2 separate regions of the Homo sapiens genome follow, and region 2 is linked to region 1. The links are contacts of gene promoters, found by promoter capture Hi-C in human tissues and cell types (Jung and others, 2019). All regions are on one chromosome and are shown on one strand. The core of a region is centred on a gene start or on the middle of the fragment in contact, and the rest is flanking DNA. Distances in the headings are between cores, read along the strand shown. Region 1 holds the start of SPATA4 (spermatogenesis associated 4). Region 2 overlaps GLRA3 (glycine receptor alpha 3).

What was found. The method cuts DNA at HindIII sites, captures the fragments that hold promoters and counts their contacts. A contact is called where the count stands out against the background at its distance.
Region 2: a fragment that was not itself captured here is called in contact with the fragment with the promoter of SPATA4 in region 1 in 1 of the 25 tissues and cell types used here (dorsolateral prefrontal cortex).

What each region holds. Positions count from the first base shown.
Region 1 is chr4:176,194,208-176,197,233 of GRCh38, forward strand. SPATA4 (spermatogenesis associated 4) reads right to left here and starts at 1,378. Exons shown (of 6, transcript NM_144644.4): 1 at 1,138-1,378. The coding sequence starts at 1,355. The HindIII fragment of the contact is 4,035 bases long and covers 1-2,558 here.
Region 2 is chr4:174,715,477-174,718,286 of GRCh38, forward strand. It overlaps GLRA3 (glycine receptor alpha 3), which reads right to left. Exons shown (of 10, transcript NM_006529.4): 5 at 12-94. Among named protein-coding and RNA genes, the nearest start is that of GLRA3, 110 kb to the right of the region's middle. The HindIII fragment of the contact is 5,278 bases long and covers 1-2,810 here.

The sequences.
Region 1 (3,026 bases), core at 128-2,627:
GAGAAACCATAAAATTATTCCTTTAGGTGAAAAGATGAAAGTTCTTGACTTAATAGAAAGTTGTAAGAATGGTTACAATGGTAGGAATGAATCATATTCCTGAAATATGAAGAAAAAGAAATTCTTGATAGTTTCGGCATCACACCTCAAACTGAAAAACTTTCAGCCACAGTGTGTGATAAGTGCTTAGTTAAGATTTTTAAAAAGGCATTAAATTTGTGGATGGAAGACATAAACAGAAATGTGTTCTGACAGAGGGTTCTGTAGTATCCACAGTTGCCATCCACTGGGGATCTTGGAACCTATGCCTCTCTGATAAGGAGAGACTACTTTAAACCAGAGTTCTGCAAAAGATTCATTGCCTTTTTATAGAATTTAGTTTGCATTCCCAGAGCAAATATTAGCTGCCAGTTACATACAAAGTGCCTACAATTAAGCAGCAACTTTAAAAACTTGTTGGTAACTCTCAAACTAGATGCCATCTCCGACAAAGGGTAAACTGATCCTTACCAGTATTTTTTTTTTTTTTTTTTTTTTTTTTTTTTGAGACAGAGTCTTACCCTGCCACCTAGGCTGGAGTGCAGCGGCATAATCTCGACTCACAGCAACCTCCGCCTCCCGGGTTCAAGCATTCTCCTGCCTGCAGCCTCCCCAGTAGCTGGGATTACAGGCACCCGCCACCACACTGGGCTAATTTTTTGTATTTTTTAGTAGAGACGGGGTTTCACCGTGTTGGTCAGGCTGTTACTCAACTCCTGACCTCAGGTGATCCGCCTGCCTCGGCTCCCAAAATGCTGGGATTACAGGCATGAGCAACTGTGCCCGGCCGTCCTTACCAGTATTAATGCCCAATATCACTAAAGAAAAAGCTTTGACTATTTTAATATTTTTGTAGTCACCAAAGCATTCTATATTGTCCACAATTTAATGATTGGTTGATTAATTGAATAAACAAGATGTATCGTGGTATTTTGTTAAAGCCTTGTTCCCTAATAGTGTTTTCGTGTGTGTACGTGGGTGGGGGGGTCTTGATTTGAAACATAAGCCAGGCCAGGGTAGGCAATCTGAGGCCTGGCAGGCGGCGGAAAGCAGGCGGGGCGCCCACCGGGGGGGCCTAGGACTGGCTTACTCAAGCACCTGTTGATGTTCCTGGGGAAGAAGCTGAGATCCAGACCCTGAAGCCAACGCAGAACGGAACGAGACAAGCGGGAGCTCTTCGGCGCATGCGGATAGACCAGACACTTCTTAGGCCTCCCTCGGATGGGAGCTGCTAGCTGTGGCGAAAGTGACGGTGACTTGTCTAGGGCTGCCGCAGTCTGTGTCAAATACCCTTTTTCCTGGCCGGCGGCAGCCATGACGCTTTCTGGGTTGCTGCGGCAACAGCAGAAGGCGGGGCTGGGCCTTATTGCTGGCGGCGCGGTCTCGTGGGGCGGGGCGGAGTCTTATGGGGCGAGACCTCAGCGCCTGCGCAAGCGCCGCAGCAGCCGCCCGTACTTCCGCTTTACTCAGATTTTGGACCGCGGGGCCGGGTATCGAGGGAGGCAAAGCTGGGGTCCCAGTGGTGTGGCTGCGGTCTGGGGAGCGCTTTCAGTCTCAGATTTAGTTGGCCTCACTGTTAACCTATTTAGAGCTTTTTTTTTCTTATGTCATCGTTCATAAGTTTTGTATTTTAAATATTGTTGGTTTCTGCCCAGCCAAAGGCCTATTTTCAGTCGTCTAGTTTGAGGAGTGGTGTGAGAAGACTCCAGAGGCCAAGGACAGTTTTTGTTTGGGAATTGGAAGAGATGGGGGAAAAAAATCTTTGAAATGGAAATGAATGTCCACAAAATTTAACATAACTATTTCCTTAATTATTGCATTAAGTATTTGTAAACATTAATATTTGAAAACGATGTGTAGGTTAGATTTTCACACTTAATTAAAATCTCCTAGTAGGCATAATTCCTTCATTAATTCAACAAATATGTATTGAGTCCATATTATGTGCCACGCATTCATCTAGTCACTTGGGATCTATCTGAACACAATGAAAACAACTGCAAAGTTGGCATAGGCAATTATAAATATGTAAGCTTAATTATTAAAATCCATTAAAAATTTTTACAGCCACAGTTTTTTGTTTTTTGTTTTTTGTTTTTTGTTTTTTTTTGCTTGGCAGGGCACAGTGGGTCATGCCTGTAATCCCAGCACTTTGGGTGGTGGAGGCGGGAGGATCGTTTGAGCTCAGGAGTTCAAGACCAGCCTGGGCAACACAAGGTGGAGAGACTTTCGCTACAAAACAAACAAACAAACAAAATAGCTGGGTGTGGTGGTGCACACCTGTACTCTCAAGTACTCCAGATGCTGAGGTGGGAGGATTGCTTGAGCTCAGGAACTTGAGGCTGCAGAGAGCCAGGTGACAGGCCCTGTGGATACATACACATGGTAAAATATGGGATAGATCTTGATAATGATACTATGTAATATTTTTAATGTTTATTCATATACATGCTTATTAATAAAGTAAACCAGTGTATTCTGTATGTGGTTAAAAAAGAAAACCAAAACTGAAGCTATGTAAGTGTTTTCTGTTAGGCTAAAAAAGTTTTAATGAATGATTCATTCATTCTGTAAACCTTTTCTGAGGAACTATCCTGGAGTATGTGCTAGATCTTTACCATCCAATATGGTAGCCACTAGCCACATGTGGCTATTTAAACTTAAATTTAAATAAACTCAGTTCCACTGGCTACATTTTACCTGCTCAATAGCCATATGTAGCTAGTGGCTGCCATGTTGGGTAGGACAGACACAGCACTGTTCCATCACTACAGGAATTTCGATTGGACAGCTCTGTGCGGCAGATCATTTATAAGAGATTCAGAGATAGAAATATCAGTGAAAAGATTACATACACTGAAAAGCTCTGCCATGGTAAAAATATGTTAGCACCAGAAAGGAAGCAAATACTTTGGCCTGGGAGAGTGTAAGAAGTCCTCTCAAAAGAGATGACCATTAATTTGGATCTTAGAAGGTGGTATTTTAAG
Region 2 (2,810 bases), core at 44-2,543, 1.5 Mb before region 1:
TTCATACTTACAGCTTTCCAGTTGCATTATACATGTTTGTACATCCATGGGAAAATTCTTGAGATCCATTGGACAGGAAAGTGTTAATGTTAATCTGAAAGTCAAAGTAATTATTTTTAAAGGAAATTTATGACATTATATTAATATTCTATTGTACAGGAGAAACAATGTTGCTTTGCTGGTGACTAACTCAGATTTAAGTAAAAATTTCTCCAGCTTATGTATCCTACTTACTATAAAATAGCTATGCCCTTATATACAAATCTGGCTTTGGTGGGCTGGGGGTTGGATAATTGCATATCTTAGGCTGGTGCTAAAGTAATCGTGGGTTTTGCCATTAAAAGTGCTGGCAAAACAGCAATTACTTTTGCACTAACCTAAATATAAGCATCCCGTCATATTTATATATCTATATGTTTATTTATTCAATTAGAAAGGGCTGTGGATGTCTAGAAAATGTCTGTATTCCAAGACGACATCCTCAAAAGAGAAATTCAAGAGTGGATCCTATAAAATTAATGCCAAACGTCAAAAGGTATCTTTCCTTGCAAATCACATGCTATATTCCAGAGGCATTAGAGTTCTAAACGTGGAAAAGCAGGGTGGAGAGGAGCAATCATATGTAACGTTCAGTCATCATTCTAACGACCCTGATGTTGTCAGTGAACATTCAGCAGTGTATTTAGTAAAGTGAATCTGGAGGACTTGAAAAGTTCGGCCTCATGTTCCCCGGTGTGGGATAAGGGAATCATCAGGGTCAGGAAATAGCCCTCTAGAATATTCATGATCTGATTCTATGCTCATCAAACAAACTTCTGATTTGGCTTCACACAAAGGATAACCTAGATGCTGTATACCAGTATTCCGCTCATTGGAAAGGCTCTCCTCCAACTTCCAGAGAGAATTAGTATGTTGACATTCCAGAAAATTCATCACCTTTGAATACTTTTTGCTGGAAAAGCATTCTACCCAGATCTCTTCAGGGTAGTTTTTCTGGTTCCTACACCTGAGGAAGAGATGGTGAGATCCACTCAAGTTTATTCAAATGAAGTTCTTTTCTGAGAACTCTTTAGCAAGCCTCTTGCACTGAGAATATTCCCATTGAAATTCAGTGTCTTCATGAGCACCCTAGGTGGATTAGTTTACTTAAACTTCGTGACCCTAGGCAGATTACTTCAAATCCCCTATATTGCAGTTTTCTCATCTTTAAAATGAAGATAACAATAGTACCTACTCCAGAGAGTTGCTATGAGCAGTACATGCGTTAACACACATAAGTGCTTAGACAAGTGCTTAAGCCATAGCAAACACTCAACAAACAGTGGTTGTTAGTGATTATTAGTATATTCAGCCACTCCTAGACTCCTTCATTTACTCATCTGCCAAATTCTATAGTGTGGGCACAAAGATGACTAAATTAAATTACATATTAAGAACTATTTAGCCAGGCGTGGTGTCTTACGCCTGTAATTCCAGCGCTTTGGGAGGCTAAGAAGAGAGGATCGCTTGAGCCCAGTAGTTTGTGATCATCCTGGGCAACATAAAAATACTCTATCTCTACAAATATATATATATATATATTTTAAATTAGCCAGGTATGGCTTGTGCACCTGTAATCCTGGCTACTCAGGAAGCTGAGGTGAGAGTATGGCTTGAGCCCAGGAGGTCGAGACTGCAGTGAGCTAGGCTCACACTGCTGAACTATAGCCTGGGTGACAGAGCAAGATCTTGTCTCTTAAAAAAAAAAAAAAGAAAGGAAGGCATGCAGGAAGGAAGGGAGGGAGGGAGGGAGAGAGAGAGAGAGAAAGAGAGAGAAAGAAAGAAAAAGAAAGAAGGAAAGAAAGAAGAAACAAAGAAACAAAGAAAGGAGGGAGGAAAGAAAGAAGGAAAGGAAGGAAGGAAAAAGAAAGAAGAAAGGAATAAAAAAGAACTATTTAAGCTTTAACAAAAAATAGTCTGCAGCTCTACTAAATATAACCACATTCGTCAAGCTGACATTTTTATGTAGACCATAGACATAAAGTTAGAATGATGTATAGTCTACAGAGAGTATGCTTGGTGAGTTAGGTCCAATTAACATAATTTGGGACACATAAATGGAGAGACAGTGAAGCTGCTGAATTTTAAGAGTCTTAGGAGGATAATCTGGTAATTCATTCGAGTCAGAGTCCATAACACACTAGAATAATTCATGGAGTTCAACATTCAAAAGGAATTTTTCTCCTGGCTCAGCTAGGTTAAGTATGATTGTGTAATTTTACAAAGTTCTCTCTTAAAAAGGCAATTTTAAAATTAGGTAGACACAATGTTTTTTGCCTTGTGAAAGGGCTTATTAGAAGTGTATGCACACATATATTTTGAATGTACACACATTAATTTTCCAAATATCCAAGGCTCTCAGACAGCCAGTTTCAAATGTTGACTTGCAGAATTAATTCTGTGACCTTTTGTTTGGAAGTAAATAGCATTCTCAGAATCTTTTCCATGCTCTCACCATGCATGTGATGTCAAATTCATATCCTGGCTATTTTTCTGGCATAAAAAAAGAGACATTACATAATTCTAAAAAAATAGCACTTGAAAGGAATTATTTGGCAAAGAAAAACACAGTTTGTAGGACTTCGGTCATAAATCATATCCTGAAAAAATCTATTCATCGACTTTTCTTTCTTTTTGTTTAAGGTACAATACAATTGCTCCTTTCACAGCATACTGAAAAATACGTGTCAACTTGGTGGGTTTGATACTGAATTTCTTTGTCAAAACACTACATATAAATTAAAGACATGTCTTGACCACATCAAAAGAAA